2 separate regions of the Homo sapiens genome follow, and region 2 is linked to region 1. The links are contacts of gene promoters, found by promoter capture Hi-C in blood cells and fetal thymus (Javierre and others, 2016). All regions are on one chromosome and are shown on one strand. The core of a region is centred on a gene start or on the middle of the fragment in contact, and the rest is flanking DNA. Distances in the headings are between cores, read along the strand shown.

What was found. The method cuts DNA at HindIII sites, captures the fragments that hold promoters and counts their contacts. A CHiCAGO score of 5 or more calls a contact.
Region 2: a fragment that was not itself captured here is called in contact with the fragment with the promoter of MAFK in region 1 in 1 of 17 cell types (naive CD4 T cells); the score reaches 5.7 in naive CD4 T cells.

The regions. Positions count from the first base shown.
Region 1 is chr7:1,527,943-1,533,021 of GRCh38, forward strand. It overlaps MAFK (MAF bZIP transcription factor K), which reads left to right and starts at 2,760. Exons shown (of 3, transcript NM_002360.4): 1 at 2,760-2,956. It overlaps LOC100128653 (a long non-coding RNA gene), which reads right to left. Exons shown (of 1, transcript NR_149036.1): 1 at 4,511-5,079. RefSeq lists silencers at 2,590-2,859, 3,350-3,479 and enhancers at 4,796-4,945, 4,871-5,079. The HindIII fragment of the contact is 17,285 bases long and covers 1-5,079 here.
Region 2 is chr7:2,547,801-2,552,422 of GRCh38, forward strand. All of the region lies in intron 2 of BRAT1 (BRCA1 associated ATM activator 1), which reads right to left. It also overlaps the pseudogene LOC124901849. Among named protein-coding and RNA genes, the nearest start is that of BRAT1, 5.4 kb to the right of the region's middle. The HindIII fragment of the contact is 1,051 bases long and covers 1,738-2,788 here.

The DNA.
Region 1 (5,079 bases), core at 1,510-4,009:
GGCAATGTTTGTACCACAACGTGAATGTACTTAACGCCACCGAACCGTACACTTAGAATGGTTAACTTGGCCTAGTGTGATGGCCACCATGCCCAGCCTATTCACCTAATCACACCTGTGATCTTAGCACTTTGGGAGGCTGAGGTAGGAGGATTGCTTGAGGCCAGGAGTTCAAGACCAACCTGACCAACGTAGCAAGACCCTATCTCTGAAAAAATATTTTTTTAACTTAAAAAAAATGGTTAAAATGGTAAATTCTATGTGATGTTTACTTTACCACAATAAAAAGTAAACTTTGGCTAGGCACAGTGGCTCATGCGTGTAATCCCAACACGTTGAGAGGACGAGGCGGGAGGATCACTTGAGCCCAGGAGTTCAAGACCAGCCTAGGCAACAGAGCAAGATCCTGTCTCTACAAAAAAAAACAAAGAAAATTAGCCAAGCGTGGTAGCACCAGCCCTTGGTCCCAGCTACTTAGGAGGCTGAGGTGGGAGGATCACTTGAACCTGGGAGGTGGAGGCTACAGGGAACTGTGATTGCACCAGTGAACTCCAGTTTGGGCGACAGTGAGATGTTGTCTCATAAAACAAACATAAATAAATAATTCAAAATTTTAAAAATTAGGCTGGATGCAGTGGCTCACGCCTGTAATCCCAGCACTTTGGGAGGCCAGGGCGGGTGGATCACCTGAGGTCAGGGGTTCGAGACCAGCCTGGCCAACATGGTGAAACCGTCTCTACGAAAAATACAAAAATCAGCCGGTGTGGTGGCGCACGCCTGTAATCCCAGCACTTTGGGAGGCCGAGGCAGGCAGATCACAAGGTCAAGAGATTGAGACCATCCTGGCTAACATGGTGAAACCCGTCTCTACTAAAAATACAAAAAAAAAAAAAATTAGCCGGGCGTGGTGGCAGGCATCTGTAGTCCCAGCTACTCAGGAGGCTGAGGCAGAAGAATTGTTTAAATCTGGGAGGCGGAGCTTGCAGTGATCCGAGATCGTGCTACTGCACTCCAGCCTGGCAACAGAGTGAGACTCCATCTCAAAACAGCAACAAGAACAAAAACAAAATTTAACCAGACGTGGTGGTGGGCACCTGTGATCCCAGCTACTCGAGGGGGCTGAGGCAGGAGAATCACTTGAACCTGGGAGGCGGAGGCTGCAGTGAGCCGAGATGGTGCCACTGCACTCCAGCCTGGACGACAGAGTGAGACTCCATCTCAGAAATAAATAAATACAAATTAAAAAATTAAAGAGATAATAAAAGTGTGTGATTAGTAACAAAAGCCTGCTATGGAAAGAATGCATTTGGGTTAGAGGAGCGACACCATGAGTAACGTAAAGAGTCCCGCGGAGATGGCCACAGCTTCTCTGGAGGCTCCCAGCGCATCCCAGGACCCCGAGTGCAGAGTGTGGGCCAGGACAAGGGAAGCACCTTTCCCATCCCCGGGGGATGTCTTTCTGCAAACATCCTGGGGACGTGGGACATTGTCGCTACTGCTGCTGTTGAGTTATTTCTTGGCACCTGTTTCTGCGGCCAGGTTGCAGGCATCACTGTGGCTAGCTGCCCCAGACGGCCGTGTGGGCCTTAGCAAGGAGGGGCCTCCCAGGTGGCCAGTGCAGAACCCGCAAGTGGGGGGGAGAGATGGCCCGGGAGGCTGCCCCCGCGCTCCACAGCAAGAGGCCACTGGGCTGCTGCCTAAATCCCCAGCCACATGGTGGTAAGGACGACACCCAGAAGATGCACAGACCTCCCTGCACTGGCTCCTGAGTCCCACCTGAGCCGAGAAAACAGGCTCCCGGGTCCCACCTGAGCTGAGAAAACAGGCTTCCCAGAACCCCGGGCAGATGCCATGGGTGTCCTGGGGGGCCCTCGGTTGCCCAGGCCTGAAACTCCTCTTCCTGCAGCGCTCAGAGGGGGGCGGGACTTGGGGACCCAGAAGCGTGGCAAGGGGCTCCAGACGGATCCCCTCTCCAGCCTGTCCTCCACCTGTGACAGGAAGCAGAGGCAGCTCCCTCAGGGGCCCGCCCCCACCTGAGGATCCCTCACAGGACTCCTTGGGCCAGTGGTGCCCTAACCCCATCCTGGGCCTGCTGTGTCCCCTGGCAACCACCAGCTGGGGCTTTAGAAGGGGGCTGGCCCCACCCACAGAGGCTGTGATCACTAGCCGCTTATCCCCATTTTTACATTGCTGGTTTGCTTGTTTTGTTTTTTTGAGACAGGGTCTCACCTTGTCACCCAGGCTAGAGTGCAGTGATGAAATCATGGCAGCCTCCACCTTCCAGGTTCAAGCCATCCTCCTGCCTCAGCCTCCTGAATATCTGGGGCCGCAGGCACATACCACCACGCCCGACTAATTTTTGTAATTTTTTTGTAGAGATGGGGGTCTCACTGTGTTGTCCAGGCTGGTCTGGAACTCCTGGGCTCAAGCGATCCTCCTGCTTTGGCCTCCCAAAGTGCTGGGATTACAGGCATGAGCCACCGTTCCCAGCTGGCCTTAATGTTTTTTATGTTTATAGAGACAGAGAATGGGGGAAGGGAGGTTTCGCTATGTTGCCCAGGCTGGTCTTGAACTCCCGGCCTCCAGAGATCTTCCCGCAGGGCCTCCCAAAGCGCGGGGATTGCAGGTGCGCGCGGGGCCAGCGGCCCCCCGGGCGGGAGAGGAGGGCGTGGCCGGGGGGCGTGGCCGCGGGGCGGGGAGGGGGCGTGGCCCGGGGGGCAGGGCGGTGTGACGCGCGCGCCGCGGATCCCGGAAGCGGTGTCAGATGCTGGGGAGCCGGGCGGGCGGGTGCGGTGGCGGCGGGCGGCGCGGGGGCACTTGTTGTTCTTCGCGAAGTCGGAGCCCGAGCGCCAGGCGGCGGCGGCGGCCGAGGGGAGCGCGACAGTGAGCGCCGGCGCGAGGACAGCGCGTGCCCGCGAGGAGCCGCCGCGCGCCCGCGCCCTCCGCGCGACGCCAGGTGAGGGGCGGTGGGGCAGCGGGGCCCGGGCCGCGGCGGGGACGGGGACCGGGGCGCGGGGCCGGGGCTACCTGGCCGCTGAGTCACGGCCGCCTGGGGGCGCGGGCCGAGGGTGGCGGGGTTGGGTGCGCGGGGCCCGAGACCCTCATGCGGCCCGCGGCGCGGCCCGGGCACCTGCCCAGGTGGGCCCCGCCCCGCAGGCCCGGGGGCTTCCCCGGGACGCGAGGCTCTCTCCCCTGCACGTGCCGCCCGGGCCATGCTTGCCGCGCCGGGGGCCCCAGGGCGCGGACCCCAGACCTGGGAGGACGAGGATCCACGCGGGTCGGCGGCGCGCATCGGGCCCGCGCCTTCACACCTGCGGGGGGCGGGGCGGGGCGGGCGCCACGTGCGGGCGGTGCGGGGAGGGCGCGGGCGCGTGGATTCTCCGCGGCTTCCGCCCCAGCGTGGCTTCCGCGTGCGGCCCCGGACTGCCCCCCGCGCTTCCTCCCGGTGACGGGCGGCGCTCTGGCCCAGTGGCTGGGGTCACGCGTGCCCGGGAACGGGGTGGGGGTAACCGGGTCTCCCCACAGGCGGGATCCTGGGACTGGTGTCGCTCTCAGCCGCCCACCTGCCAGGGTTGCTGGAAGGAAGGCCGTGGGGAGGCGGGAGGGGGGCAGGTGACAGTGGCCCCAAGGCTCGTCCCTTTGCTCACGTGTGGGGCAGGGGCTCCGGCCTCTTCCCGCTCCCACTGCGTGAGTTCTTCTGTGCCTCTGTCAAGTTCAGGAAACTGTGTATGTGCCCGTGACTGTGTGTGTCTGCGTCTGCACAGCCTCTAGATCCTGGGGGGTGGGACCAGGCGCCACCGAGAAACCCAGAAAGCCAGGACCCCGCCTGGCCTTGGCCCTTGACCTGGGTCCGCCTGGGACACAGCAGTGGCCCTGCACTGCATTCTCGCGCTCACACCGTGTGTGTCCGTGTTCGCGGGGCCTCCCGTGTCCCTCTCCTGGTGTCCTGCGTCCCTGAGCATGCTGTTTTCTTGCTTCTTAAGTAGCTCTTGTAGCTGAGGCAGAAATTAGATCCACTCACCATTCATTCACCAGGTGACCCACAGGCAGCCAGCCAATCTCTGGCCAGGTGCCTGGCCTTGGGAAGATCCTGAGACTCAAAACGCCCCCCACCGCCCCCCATCGTGGTCTAGGGGATATCTGTGTGGTTCGGCTCTGGCAGCGCCCTTCCCACCCCTCTGATTCTCCAGGGTGGGCTGCCAGGTCTCTTTACTGGCACTGAGGTTTCACCGTCACGGTGTGTTGTTGTAAGGGGTTCTCCAACACAGAGTGGGGTGCCCTATGCAGCTTCTCCAAACCCAATGTCTTCAGGGACATGGAGCATTAAAAGAGCCGTGGGCGGGGTCTGGAGAACATAGGTGGGCTGTGCAGGTGTCTGGGACACACCTACACCCTATTTGGGCGTCCAGTGCCATTTATGAGAACATCTCCCTTTCTTAGGTAACCCAGTAGGAATGTCTGAGTTTGACCTTGGGAGAGGGAGTCTGCTTTTAAAACTAGACCTCTCATTATTCCAAAATAAGACATTTATTAAAGCAGAAAAACCAGGCTTCTCCTGCCTTTTATCCTTGAACCGAGCCAGGGCTTTGAGGGGCTGGTTGCCCGCAGCGTCGACTCCCCAGGTGCTGGTAAACCCGGGAGCCAGCGTTTACCGAGGGTCAGGGTTGTCGGGGCGCCAGCCTTTGTGTGCACCCGGGAGGCTGCTGTTAAGGGAGACCGTCTTCCGGGCCACTTCGCTGTCTACAAGGCGTGTGCTTTCACCCACGGGGCTCAGCGATGGCTGCGTTTGTTTACAGTCTCTGGCAAAGCTGTTTGCCACCCAGACGGAGAAGAAGTTGTGCCTGTTCTTGTCCCAGCTGTTTCTGAGTCTAAAGGTTTCTGGAGTGGACTTTCTGGGTTTCGGGTCCAGTCCACACGGGAAATGGAAATCTGGCCAGCTGAGAGAGGGCTCCGTGTGGCCGCCTTTCAACAGTAAACAGTGACTCACCGCTCCGTCCCCACCCTCCCTGCTCTCCGCGAATGGAAGATGCCTTTCCCCGCTATTTATTTTTGCTTTTTATAAGTCACAGACTCGTCATG
Region 2 (4,622 bases), core at 1,013-3,512, 1.0 Mb after region 1:
AGGCTGGGCGTGGTGGCTCACGCCTGTAATCCCAACACGTTAGGAGGCCAAGGCGGGTGGTCACTTGAGCTCAGGAGTTCGAGACCAGCCTGGCCAACATGGCGAAGTCCCATCTCTACTAAAAATACAAAAAATTAGCCAGGTGTGGTGGCTCATGCCTGTAGTCCCAGCTAATTGGAAGGCTGAGGCAGGAGAATCGCTTGAACCTGGGAGGCAGAGGCTGCAGTGAGCCAAGACCACGTCATTGCACACGGCACACTCCAGCCCTGGGCGACAGAGCGAGACTCCATTCCAAAAAAAAAAAAAAAAAAAAGTGGAAGAGCATTTTCACCTTCCAAATGGGTACTTTTCCTTAGACAGTGCTCCATGCAAGCAGGTACAATGGAACAAACATTCCTCTCCAGAACTGGCATCCTGTATTTCTATAACCAGCTATGCTATCGCTCAAAAGCACCAGTGGGGGAAAAAGACATTTTGAGGCAAAGGTTGGGAGAGTTTCCCAGTGAGAAGCCCCTGTGGAAAGAATGTGGTTCAGTAAGGAGAGTGAGGAGCATGCAGAGGAGGAGAACCAGGCCAGGACCCAAAAAGCACTATGTCCACCTGAATCAGCACTGCAGGCTGGGTGAGGTGCTCATACCTGTAGTCCCAGCACTTTGGGAGGCCAAGGCAGGAGAACAACATAGCAAGACCCTGTCTCTACAAAAAATAAAAAAAAATTAGCCCGGCATGGTGGCACACATCTGCAGTCCCAGCTACTCAGGAGGCTGAGACGGGAGGATTGCTTGAGCCCAGGAGTTCGAGGCTGCAGCAAGCTATCACTGCACCACTGTACTCCAGCCTGGGCGACAGAGGGAGACCCTGTCTCTCTAAAAAAAAAAAAGGCGGGGCGTGGTGGCTCACGCCTGTAATCCCAGCACTTTTGAAGGCCAAGGCAGGCAGATCACGAGGTCAGGAGATTGAGACCATCCTGGCAAACATGGTGAATGAAACCCTGTCTCTACTAAAATATAAAAAATTAGCCAGGCATGGTGGCGGGCGCCTGTGGTCCCAGCTATTTGGGAGGCTGAGGCAGGAGAACTGCTTGAACTCGGGAGGTGGAGGTTGCGGTGAGCCGAGATCGCACCACTGCACTCCAGCCTGGTGACAGGGCAAGACTCTGTCTCAAAAACAAACAAACAAACAAACAAAAAACAATGCCACTGAGTTCAAAATCTAAAAAATCATTGTTGAAGGGTTTTGAAACAAAACAGAATTAAAATACTAACGACAATAATAGAAGGTTGTGATGGCCTGAAGTTCAAGTGCTCTGAGGTCCTTCGGTTGCCTGGATAGAGAATGGAAAGTCTAATTAACTTCAGACTTTTTAAAAAATCCGGTTCTCATGTTAAAAATATAAGGGTAGCCACTGAAGAACACAAATAAGCCTGTGGTCCCAGCATCTTGAGAGGCCGAGGTGGGCAGATTGCCTGAGCCCAGGAGTTTTAAGACCAGCTTGGGCAACACAGGAAGATCCCCTCTCTATAAAAATTCGCTGGGCATGGTGGCGCGCATCTATAGTCCCAGCTACACTGGAAGCTGAGATGGGAAGATCACCTGAGCCCAGGAGGTCAAGGCTGCAGTGAGCCGTGATTACACCACTGTCCTGGACAACAGCACAAGAACTTGTCTAAAAAGAAGAACATAAATAGAATGTATAACTTCAAAACCAGAAGAGGAAAGATTTAAAAGAAAAAAAAAAGCTTTATCAATCTGATGGAGGGCAGAAAAGGAGGATAAAGGCACAAAGGTAAGGCACAGGAAATTAAAAAATACAAAAGAATTCAAATCTAACAGTCGCCTCAACAAATTAAAGAGATCAAACTTATCTGTTAAAAGAAAGAGTTGCTGAGATTAAATTAAACACTAAAAACAAGCAATGTGGTGTTTCTAAAAGCAATAAAATGCAACGACAGGAAAGGCTGGGAGCAGGAGAGAAAAGACACAGTAGGCAAATTCTAACTTTAAAGAAGCTGATGTAGCAACAGAAATAGCAAACAAAATGGGCTGTAAAGCAAAAAGCAGTATTCATGCAGAAGTAAGTTAACTGATCACGGAGATAAATTCCAGAAAGACACAACATTCCTACATCTATGTATACCTAACCTCACTTCAAAACGTGTAAAGCAGCCTGGGCAACGTGGTGAAACCCCGTCTCCGCAAAAAAATACAAAAAATTAGCTGGGTGTGGTGGTGTGTCCCTGTAGTCCCAGCCATCCAGGAGGCTGGGGTGGGAGGATCACTTGAGCCCAGGAAGTTGAGGCTACAGTGAGCCGTGATCACACCACTGCACTCTAGCCTGAGTGACAGAGTGAGACCCTGTCTCCAAAAAAAAAAGAAAAAAAAAATGCCAGGCACAGTGCCTCACACCTGTAATTGCAGCGATTTGAGAGGCCAAGGCGGGCAGACTGCTTGAGCCCAGGAGTTTGAGACCAGCCTGGGCTACATAGTGAAACCCCGTCACTACAAAAAATACAAAAACTTAGCCGGGCGTGGTGGCGGGCTCCTGTGGTCCCAGCTATTAGGGAGGCTGAGGTGAGAGAATCATCTGAGCCCAAGAAGTCGAGGCTGCAGTGAACCGAGATCATGCCACTGCACTCCAGCCTGGGCAATAGAGCAAGACTCCATCTCAAAAAAAAAAAAACAAAAAAAAAAAAAGAAAGAAAAGAAAAAGAAAAAAATAATATGTAAAGCGAAAAAAAAAAAAAGGATGCATCTCAAAGAAAAATCATGAATCCATGATCTTGGTGTAAGCTTTTTACACACCTCTCAGAAACAAGCAAACAAATTAGCAAGAACATAGCAGGTCTGAACTAATGAACGAGTGTGGAAACTACACTCTTTCCATCAAGTACAATGCAGGAGAAATGACAGAGGCTGGGAGGGAGGAGGAAACAGGGACTCACTGTGAACCCAGACTCGGTTTCTTTAGGGGGAACAAAATTAGATTGTGCTGATGATTTCAGAGCCCTGTAAATTTACTAAGAACTGTTGAATTGGTACCATTTATTTATTTATTTTGTCCATTTCTCATGTCAGACGGGTCACGTACCGACATCATACCAGGGTTCCATGGTGCCACATCTCACACATGCGCCTGAACACTCAATTATCATGCTTAGGTTGGGTGCAGTGGCTCTCCACTGTAACCCCAGCACTTTGGGAGGCCAAGGTGGAGGGATCACCTGAGGTCAGGAGTTCGAGACCAGCCTGGCCAACATGATGAAATCCCACCTCTACTAAAAATACAAAAATTGGCCGGGCATGGTGGCATGCACCTTTAATCGCAGGTACTCAGGAGGCTGAGGCAGGAGAATCGTTTGAAACCCAGGAGGCGGAGGTTGCAGTGAGCCAAGATTGTGCCATTGCACCCCAGCCTGGGCAACAGAGCAAGACTTGGTCTCAAAAAAAAAAAAATCTATATCTATATATATATCTATATATAGATATATATATATCTCATGCTTACAAACTGTAAAAGGATCTGGTACACCTTAAATGGGAGAATGGCATGGTATGCAAATTATATCTCAATAAAGCTACTGAAAAATACTTCTTAAAATTTAAATACAGGCCAGGCATGGTGGCTCGCTCCTGTAATCCCAGCACTTTGGGAAGCCCAGGCGGGAAGACTGCTTGAGCCCAGGAGTTCCAAGCTGGCCTGGACAAGATGGTGAGACCTCATCTCTATGGGAAAAAAAAAAATAGCTGGGCCTGGTACACACCTTGATCCCAGGAACTCAAGAGAATGAGGCAGGCGGACTGCCCAGGAGGTCAAGGCTGCAGTGAGCCGTGTTCACGCCATTGCACTCCATCCTGGGTGACGCGCAAAAACCCTGGCTCAAAAAAAAAAAAAAAGAAAAAGAAAAACTGACTACTACAAACTAGGCCACAGTTGAAGACCTTCAAATACCAAAACATCAAAATCATATAGTGAAATCTCTAGAACATTGAGAAAACTCGCCTGGGTCCTATGTCTCAATAAAAGTCTCAACAGCTATAAAGATTCAAAACATATGTTATGTTTTCTAACCTCCACAAAGTAAATTAAAAATCAATAATAAAAAGACTGGAAAAATCCATATTTTGAAACTAAAGGATACTCTTTTAAGTAACTTGTGGGTGAAAAAAAAATTATAATGAAAAGCATAAAATACTCAGAACTAAATTAAAACCAAAGTACTGCAATGTAAAACGTGTAAGATGTAGCTAAAGTCATACTTTTAGAGAAATGCATAGTCTTAAATATATATATATATATATATATATATTTTTTTTTTTTTTTTTTTTTTTTTTTTGAGACAAGAGTCTCACTCCATTGCCCTGGCTGGAGTGCAATGGCGTTATCTCGGCTCACTGCAACCTCTGCCTCCCAGGTTCAAGTGATTCTCCTGCTTCAGCCTCCCGAGTAGCTGGGATTACAGGCATGGACCACCATGTCAGGCTAATTCTTGTATTTTTAGTAGAGACGGGGTTTCACCATGTTAGCCAGGCTGGTCTCCAACTCCTGACCTCAAGTGATCTGCCTGCCTCAGCCTCCCAAAGTGCTGGGATTATAGGCATGAACCACCGTGCCTGGCCTTAAA